Regions from separate parts of the Homo sapiens genome. Here region 1 is linked to region 2. The links are contacts of gene promoters, found by promoter capture Hi-C in blood cells and fetal thymus (Javierre and others, 2016). All regions are on one chromosome and are shown on one strand. The core of a region is centred on a gene start or on the middle of the fragment in contact, and the rest is flanking DNA. Distances in the headings are between cores, read along the strand shown.

Region 1 (4,931 bases), core at 726-3,225, 1.0 Mb after region 2:
CTTTTGTTGTTGGTGTTTTTTTTAGAGGTGGGAACTGGCACCTCTAAAAAATGTTACCCAGATTGCACTCAAACTCCTGGGCTCAACAATCCTCCTGCCTCAGCCTCTCAAGTAGCTGGGACTATAGGCATGCCACCGTGCTCAGCTTACATGTTACACCACTTCTAATGTTGAAAACAAAGAAATGTCTAATTAAACTTTCATGCAGTGGAAAAGTTATTTGAACCTGTTCTGTGCTTTGATCAACAGTCTCTCAGTCTCTTTGCTGTCATTTTATGTCATCTACAGGTTTGACTTGGGAATGGGGGTCCTGAGGGCATGGACACACTCGCTCACCAGCCTGGCGGCCTCCAGAGCAGTGCCCCAGTGCACTGAGATGCCCCCACTCCCATGGCCATAGTGGTGGACTACAGGCAGCCTCTGTCCATCTCGCGCAAGGAGCTCTGTCTGCAGTCGCACGCCTGGCCTGTAGGGCCTCAAGCCCACCTTCTCCCTGATGTTGCAGGCTCCGTGGAGGGAGGGCTCCAGAGCACAGCATCGGGAAAGAATCTCTCTGCTATTTTCTGCATCCGGGGACAGATTCCAGTCCCCTTTTTGCCTAGTTCCACCTAGGGTTACATGGGATGTACCAGGATAAATATATGTCAGCCCACTGCCATCTCGGATAAAATGCTCCACCCAGGGAGCCTGAACTTGGAGGACTTGGCCCCTTACAGGGAAAATCTTTGAGTCTCCTGCAAGCTGTCTGCTTCCAAGGCCTGAACAGTTGACCACGATGTCAAAGGACGGATGAAGTTCCCACAGGTCTTCTATTCGCCGAGTGAGTGTCCAGCCTCCACTTCCCTTTATCCTACGGAAGAGAGGCCATGAAGTGAATATTTGTTAGCGACCTGATCAACTACTTCCAGGAAATAAAGAAAAGGAACCCAGGAACAAAAATTAGGTGATGATCTGATGAACAAACACCTCAGGAGCTTCCAGGGCCCAGTCAGGCCAAATTCTAGCCATCAACTGCTTCACATCCTAGGAACTGGGGATTTCTAAAGTTGAATCTAAATGGAAACCACTTGAAAATTCAAAACAAAGGAAATTATATGCTTTGCCCTTTTAAAATTTTGTAAAATTCCTACATTATTCTAGATGCTGAATAAATGCCAAGTTGATTTGGTATTTTAAATGTCCAAGCATTTCTTATTTATACCACTTATTTAACACCTAAATTTACTACCTTAAACATTTTATCTCATATTGTTAACTCTTGCATGATCCTTTGTATTAGCCTGGTCTCCCTAACTAAAAGGTACAGGGGTCATATCCCCACCAGCTTTATGTCCACAACTATGTTAGCACGAGAAGAACACAAAATATTTGTAGCTGATGAGCTAAATGGCAGCTGTGGTTGGTAATTACTATATTTTTTGGACCAACTATATCAATAGTGAAAAGAAATGGTTTATCCAGTACCTGTAGTCTTTATTTAAATCAAGGTAAAATACACTTAACATAAAATTTATCATTTTGACGATTTTTAAGTGTAAAGTTCAGTAGTATTAAGCACATTTACCTTGTTGTGCAACCGCCATCACCATCCATATGCACTATCCATCTTCAGAATATTTTTTTTTTTTCTGAGATGGGGTCTCACTCTGTCACCCAGGCTGGAGTGCAGTGGCGTGATCTCAGCTCACTGCAGCCTTGACTTCCTTGGCTTAAGTGATCCTCCCACCTCAGCCTCCTGAGTAGCTGAGACCACAGGTGTGTGCCACCATGCCCGGCTAATTTTTTTGTATTTTTGATAGAGACAGGGTTTTGCCATGTTGCCCAGGCTGGTCTGCAACTCATGAGCTCAGTCGATCCACCTGCCTCTGCCTCCCAAAGTGCTGGGATTATAGGCATGAGCCACCGTGCCTGGCCTCCAGAACTTTTTTAATCTTGCAAAATGGAAAGTCTACCCAATAAACAATAACCCCCAGGACATGTAATCTTATTCACAGGTCACTTGTAGAATAGAGAAAGAGACTATCAGCAGCTCTGTTCAATAGACGCAGGCCGAATGCTTGCATGCGGGGCACTGCTAAGAGGGACCAGAAGGGTGTGAGTGACAGTGCCCTTCGTCAAGGGCTGACAGAGGAACTGGCAGACAGAAGTGTAAATGCTTGGCAGAATGGACTAAGTTCTACAGGAGAAGTGGTGTGAAATCAGAAAGCCTGGCTTTATATCCCAGCTCTGCCTCACATTAGCTTTGAGCTCTTGGCCAACTCACCTCACTTCAAATCTCAGTTTCCTCATCTGCATCATGGGGAGGATACCTCCCTTGCCTGTCTCACAGGATGGTTGTGAGGTTACAATAAAATAATGGCCACAACTTTGAACAGTCGTCAATCACAATACATCTTAGAGGACCGATATCAATAAATCACGAATTCCTCAAGGGGAGAGACTGTATCTTATGTTTCTTACCATCCCTATGACCTAGCTAAGTGCCCCACACCAAGTGGACTGGAAGTAAGTGTTAGCCAATACTAAAGACAATATGAAATCCTGGTTTGGACCTGCTATGGTTAATTTATGTGTCAACTTGATTGGGCTATGGGGTGCTCAGATATTTGGCCAAACATACTCCGTGTATTTCTGCAGAAAGTGTTTTTGGATGAGAAAAACATTTAAATCAGTGGGCAGAGTAAAGCTAATTGCCTTCTTTAATGTGGGTAGGCCTCATCCTATCAGTTGAAAGCCTGAATAAAACAAAAAAGTTGACTCTTTTCCAAGGAAGAAAGAATTCCTTCGCTGGACTGCCTTCCAACTGGGACATTGGCTTTTTCCTCTTTTTGGACTGGAACAAAAACATTGGCTCTTCTTGAGTCTCAAGCCTGCTGGCCTTTGGACTAGAGCTACACCATTGGCTCTCCTGGGTCTCCTGCTTGCCTGCCAACTCACCCTGCCGATCTTACACATCCTATTCATTCTTTTTGTCTGGAGAGAGATACAGGGTGGCAGAACTTTGGCATCTTCTCTCTCTGACTGCCGCAATCCAAGCCGTTTCAGGGAGAAACTGGGAAGGGCTGACCTTGAAAATGGAGGCAGAATGCTTGTATCCTGCATGCCCCTAAGAGAGCAGAAGTGATCATCACAGCAGTTCTGAGCGCTATCTACTTTCAAGGCCAGATAAACAGGTTTAATGTGAAGGAAAATAATAAAAAAGACAGAAACTTCTGCAATGGTGGTCAATGATGGCATGGGTTTGACAACTAATTTTAACTTAGCAAGGAGGGACTCTTTGAAGTGATTCTAACTTTCCGCCCCACTTCCTGGTTGGAAAGTTTAACTGCAACTTGTGTTAAGATCAGCAGAAAACTGGCCTTCTGATGCTGGATTGCATTTCTAGAAAATGTCTCATGTTCATGGTGGTGCATGCCTATAATTCCAGCTACTCAGGAGGCTGAGATGGGAAGATCCCTTGAACCGAGGAGGTGGAGGTTCAAGCCGAGATCCCGCCACTGCACTCAAGCCTAGGAGACAGAGCAAGACACCAACTCAAAAAAGAAAGAAAGAGAGAAAGAGAGAGAATGCCTCACGTTGATGAGCATGGAAGAGACCAAGATTGCTACTCAATGGCATCTTAGACCCTGACCCCAATAGCTCAGCTTCCTATTCCATCAAGTACAAGCCACAGGCTGTCATCTCAGCATCTTTGCAGTTCTCTGCATCTGACTGAAGGTCAAGCTGCTGGGCAGAGCTCCATCTGCTCAGTCTCTTCACACTCCCTCCCTCTGCAGAGACCTCTGAAGTATGTCCACCGAGCAGTTTCAAGAACAGTTTGAAACCTCTGGATTAGACTCACTGATTATTCAACAAGTATTTGTTGAGGGCTTGTACTGTGCCCAGCACCCTTAGGAGGCAAGAAGAACTCAGAGGCTATGCTTGCTCTGAGATCACATGAACCTGCACTGCACTTCCTATTAAATGCAAGCTGCATTGCCAGCATCAATGCTTCAAACAACAGAACCTAAATTCGGTTGCTTTTTATTCTAAAAATCCAAGGAAGGGAGTATATTGTTTACCTGAGACAAGGAAACCAAAGAAAAGAATCTGGCAAGCATCTACACTTTGGGGCCACAGAGAACCAATAAAGCCAATGGATTACTTTTTGATGTAATTAAAAGTAGTTAAAAGAGAGAGAATGAAGCTGGAGCTACTGTTTTGTTTGTTTGTTTGTTTGTTTGTTTGTTTTATAAGTAAAACTGTTCATAGATAAAAAGTACTAAATATAGCAAATTTTATGGGGACAGATTGTTTTTGGCTCTCTCAGTAAGAATAACCAATTTAGAAGCTTAAATTATGTTCTTAAACATGTAATAATAGATAAATGTTTTTAAAGGTAAAATAACTGTAAAGGTTGTTTTTCCCCTTAACATTGGCATAGAAAGAAAAGTAAATTGGAGTTTTGTAGTAATACTGAGCAGCATGTTTCTGTGTGTTTATAATCTTCCAAAAAGTGAACACGAAGAAAAGAACTTTAAAAAGAGCTTAGGAGGCCTCTACCCTTTACCATTCATATGACCTCGGCCAAGTTATTCCACTTCTCTAAACTTTAATCTTATATCCATAATATGGGGGTAGTAATACTGACTCTCTAGGCTCGTTGTGAAAATGAAATGAGACACATCTGGAAAAAGCATAACACTGTGTCTAACACACTATAGCTGCTCAATAAAGACCTTTTATTTTTAAAAAAGTGCTTAGGGGTTTTTCATGCTACTGTAAAATACAAGACCCAGTGCATTATCTATGTGTATTCTTATCCTCCATACCTGTATATCACTTATGTTTCATTAAGGATGATATTTCAATTTTGAAAAGTTTTAACTGATCATTATTTGAATATTATTTTGATTTTGTGGGTTTTTTAAATTCTTACATTGTAGATTCCA
Region 2 (4,873 bases), core at 933-3,432:
CTAGGCCAAACAATCCAGAAACAAGTACTCATCACCATAATTCAATTTCTGGAGAAGAACGGACTATAAAATTGGGCTCTATTTTCCAGTGAGAAAAAGCAGCAAAATAAAAGAAAAAAAAGAATTGGGCTCCATTCATTTTCCTAGAAACTAGATGCCTCCAAACATTCTCGTTTGCTTTGCTCCTGCCTAAAAAATAGTTCTGCAGAGGCACTGCTTTCAATACTTCATCATTAGTACTTATTAAAGACTGGGACATGTACGGTGGGGTGGGGAAGGGTTCATAAAGTAAAAATAAATTTTCTGAAGTTTGTATAGATAAAACATGCTGTTTAAAAACCTTTGTGCTTGACGGGTGTAGCAAAGTGAAATGTCTGAAATGTTCTTTACAATGAACTAAACTTGCTACCTTTCAGACCACACTACATCCACTTATGATTTCCAGAAAATACATACCTCCTTTGCACGCACTTCAATTACACAAAGACAAATTAATTTGATACTTCCAACCTTCTCTTACACACACACTACAATTCTGAAAGGAAACTGTCAAATTAAGACTGAGACAAACATATTCTGCTCTATCATCTTAAAATAGTGCGGTTAGAATTCCCAGTATTATACTGCAATTTACTTCCCTCGTTTTGAAATGTTACCATTACATCTTCCTTAAACTAAAAACAAAACATTAAGTTTACTATATACTTTATTAAACTTTTATAAAATACTAAAACTAGAGGAGAATTTGTAGAATATGAATGCCGTGATAAAAATCATTACACTTCGGCATTCTTCGGTCAAGAAGCCAATGTTAACTACGTAAACATTACTCCTTAACTAATGTTAACTAGAATAACCAATCATACGAGACTGCAGGTTTTAAACCTCTAGTGTTTCTCCCGCTTATTACCTCAAACTTATCTTCCTTCTCTCTTTTGTGTTGTCACGGTATATGGCAATTTCTGCTTTAAAATGTATGTATGCCTTAACCAGCCCTATGCGACTGCACATAACAAAAGACACGCTCCTGATCGGGTTTTAGAAAACCCACAGACCTGGGCACAAACCCCCGTTCCACGACCTACTAAACATACGCTATCTGAGCACAGGACATAGTTAAGAAAATTTTAAAAACAATTGAAAAAAGAATAAACATACAATGTCAGGAGAGTTTACTCATCTCCGTCTCTGCATCTACCTCCTAGGTTTCACTACCTACCTTCCAGTTTAGCCTTAGGATACGTACGCAAAACACCCGGTACATACATGGGTACTTTTCTTCCTTTTCGCATACTTTGAAGTGTGAAGTTTTCACTAACTACGTGCTCAAACGTCAGCTACATTCTATTCCTATCTGCAAAACCAATGTAATTAAATCTCAAGCGACCTTCTCAGACTCAAGTCTGAGACACGAACGAGCATTACCGTCTTTAAGTTTCTCTTTCCCGGACTTCCGGAGAAGGCTACCTCCGGAGAGAGGCGCCGGGAGGGTGAACAACCAGTGGCAGGGAGAGGCAGCTCGGCCCCACCGCCAACCTCAGAGGCGCGACGCCCGGCCCCATCCTCAACCCCACCGCTGCCCCCGCGGAAGGAAGCCACGTCCCCATTTCCGACCCCAAGTGAGGCTAGGAATTACGATGCACTTTTAAAAGGCACCTCGACTTGCAACACTTCGAGGGGGGCCCCAGCCCCGCAGCCACTGGGAACCGCGCGTCCGCTTCCCCCCAGCGCGCTCCCCACCCGGCCCGGCCACGAGTGGACTCCAGGCTGGCCGCCATGTTGCCGGAGTCGCCGCCGCACCCCGAGCGCGGCCCGCCCGCCCGACCGTGGCCCGAACCCGGGCCCCGCCCGCACGGCGAGGAGGCAGTGCGGCTCGGCTGGGCAGGGGAGGGCGGGAAGCCCACAGGGCCCGCGCCCACCTGGTGCCGGAGTGGTGACCAGCGGGAGGGACGTCACCGGCGCCGAGGTTACGTTGGAGATGGGCGCTAAAGTCGTCACGTTCGGGTGCTGGGTCGTGTTCTTGTCCGCGGACAGCACGCAGAGCACGCCCAGGCAGGTGGCGGCCCAAAGCAGTGAGCGGGAGAGCCGCGACATCGTGTCCTCAGCGCTGGCGTTCGGGAGAAAGCTAAGGCTCGCAACGCTCAGTCAACCCCTCAATCCCCTGCGGCGCCGCCTCCGAGACTACGCTCCCCCGCGGGAGCGCGCAGGGGTCACGTGAGAGGCCCCTGTTTTCGGCGTGCGGGGGCGAAGAGGAGGGAGGTGGGGCTCGGACGATACCAACGGGAATCCTACGGGGGGAAGCAGGGGAGTCGGGAGGAAGCCGAAGGAACCTGGCCCTCAAAGCGACTGTGCCACAGCCAAGAAAACTGGGAGCTTCTGCAAATCGTTCTTCTTGCCCTCAGATTACCAGACACGACGCAGCTGGACTTGTCTCATGCCTGCGATAGGGACGGCCCCCACCCTGACTTGCATGGAACAGTCGACATAATGTGGCCTACTGCTTCCACCTGAGCGCCCCGCCAGGCTGTAATTCCGCGGGCCCACGTGACCTCCGGGGCCGCGCCTTCCGGACGCAACTCCACTGGGGCGGAAGTTGGTTTTGTGCGGCTCTCAAGAACTAAGTTTGTGCTGTGCTGCGGGATCCCCAGGGAGCTTCCTTATATCTTCGGCAGGACCCCTTCTTTTTTTCTTGAAGATTGATTTTGCTAGAAGTTATCCTGTGATGGGACTCCCTAGGGGAATGGAGGCACCACGTGGTTAAGGAGTTTGTGCGTTGCCGCCCACATAGTGTGGGCAGCTGAGGCGCCGCCCGGATCAGAGCCGCAGGGCGTCTACTCTGTCACTTTCCCAACCTGACTTTTCCGGATTGCTATTTCAGACGGCGGTTGCAGCAGCCGACCTGTCTCAACTCCACCACTGTAGTCAGAGAATCAAAAGCGGTCTGAGTTGCGAGGTCATTGGGGAGGCCCCCACCCCCACATTACCAGTGAGGAAACTGAGACTTAAAAAAGTGACCTGACCTGGACACGGGATTGCCTGACATCAGAGCTGGATTCTTAAGTTCCTGTTAGTGTTAAGGCGCTGCTCAGACTTTTAGTAAAGGTGAGCGCCATCTACTGCCAAGTCTCACAAAATATTCGCAAAATTTGATACGGTTATCACATGGTAAAAATTAGACTTTAAAAGTTGTATTTAATGCTGTGTTTTCAGCTGTTGTACACTTATGTAATTTTAATTATGCAAAGTTATCCTAATAATATAGGAATATTAATTGCTTTCGTGAGGTCTGTCTTGATGTGCCACGATGACTTTTTTGATGTGCCAAAAAAGATGACTACATAGTGCTTTTACCTTTTTGCTCAAATAGAAAGATTTTATTTCCCCTTGGGATCTTTTCAGTGTCGTCCTTCTGTACCCTCAGGACTATGAACATTTGTTCCAATGACTACGCTAGTTGGAGTAGTGTTGCTTGGATGTAAACAAAAAGCTGATAGTTTTGACTGATCCAGCCCAGAAGCATGAGAATGCTGTCAGGGAAGTGAGCTCCCACCATAAGCCCTTCAGAGAAGTGTCTGCTCTTCTCTCAGGAGGCCTCTCTCTATATTTAACACTTGACTATCTGGCACCCAGACCAAATGAAAGCGCAAGGCAACTTTAATTTTTTTTTAAGGTTAAGAATGTAAATAGGGGCCGGACGCGGTGGCTCACGCCTGTAATGCCAGCACTTTGGGAGGCCAAGGCGGGTGGATCACCTGAGGTCCGGAGTTTGAGACCAGCTTGGCCAACATGGTGTAAACCCCGTCTCTCCTAAAAATACAAAAATTAGCCGGGCATGGTGGCACGTGCCTGTAATCCCAGCTACTAGCAGGGCTGAGGCAGGAGGATCGCTTGTATCCGGGAGGCGGAGGTTGCAGTGAGCCGAGATCACACCACTGCACTCCAGCTTGGGGAACAGAGCCAGACTCGTCTCAAAAAAAAAAAAAAAAAAAAAAATGTAAATAGAAGCTCTGTTCTCAGAGCTTGGTGTGTTATCTTCTTTCCACCCTAGGATAAACACACTCCTCTGTGCAGACCATTGTTTAACAATTTGTCACCTGGATGTTTAACTCTAGTCCTCAGATATTCCTCAGTCCTGATAAAGGGACATTTCACGCTCTTGTTTTAAGACTAGAAAACCATTGGTTTATTTTATTTTGCATGGCAACTGTAGAGGTAGATCAAGGGAGTTCCAAAGTCATTTTCACCATTTCAGAGAGACAGCTTTTTTTTTTTCAGTTCCTGACAGTAAGCTTCTGTTTATTGTTGTCATAGAGCAGGGTTTCTCAATCTTGGCGCTATCAAGATTTCAGGCTGACTCATTCTTGCTTGTCCTGTGCATTGTTGGATATTCGGCAGTATTCGTAGCCTCTACACACTAGATACCAGAAGCACCCCACCTCTCAGTTGTGACAACCAAAAATATCTCCCGATATTGTTAAATGTCTCCTGGGGGTAAAATCACAATTGAAAGGCACCCTCAGAGCGTTCTTCTGTGTGCAAGGTCAGCCATCACTCAGGTTATTTCCTCTTAGACACATTGCTTGCAATTAGATTGTCGATTGGTTGTTAGAGCGACCTTCTTAACCATTTATTTTCTTGAAAGCAGCAAGACAGAGTGCTTCTGCGCTTGTGAATCTTCTAGCAGTATAAGCTCCCTCTAAGTTTTTTAAACAGCAGATTTTTAAACAATGCTTCAGCCTTGTGTCAGTACCTTTCCCCAAATAAACAGATCAACACTCCAAACAGGACCCTGCCTTCTAGCTATAACTAACATCCAGTGGCCCCTTAATAATCAGAGGTTTGCCTCCACTACTTGATAGCAAGAAGTACAAAC

Evidence for each region. Contacts are between HindIII fragments. The CHiCAGO score rates a contact against its expected background, and 5 or more counts as called.
Region 1: a contact is called between a fragment that was not itself captured here and the fragment with the promoter of CD164 in region 2, in 1 of 17 cell types (naive CD8 T cells). The highest score is 5.1, in naive CD8 T cells.

Annotation. Positions count from the first base shown.
Region 1 is chr6:110,392,493-110,397,423 of GRCh38, forward strand. It overlaps DDO (D-aspartate oxidase), which reads right to left. Exons shown (of 5, transcript NM_001372108.2): 5 at 1-850. The coding sequence ends at 283. Among named protein-coding and RNA genes, the nearest start is that of DDO, 21 kb to the right of the region's middle. The HindIII fragment of the contact is 4,706 bases long and covers 1-4,328 here.
Region 2 is chr6:109,380,285-109,385,157 of GRCh38, forward strand. CD164 (CD164 molecule) reads right to left here and starts at 2,183. Exons shown (of 6, transcript NM_006016.6): 1 at 1,920-2,183. The coding sequence starts at 2,094. RefSeq lists a silencer at 1,641-1,920 and enhancers at 2,076-2,585, 2,141-2,490, 2,571-2,800. The HindIII fragment of the contact is 6,848 bases long and covers 1-4,287 here.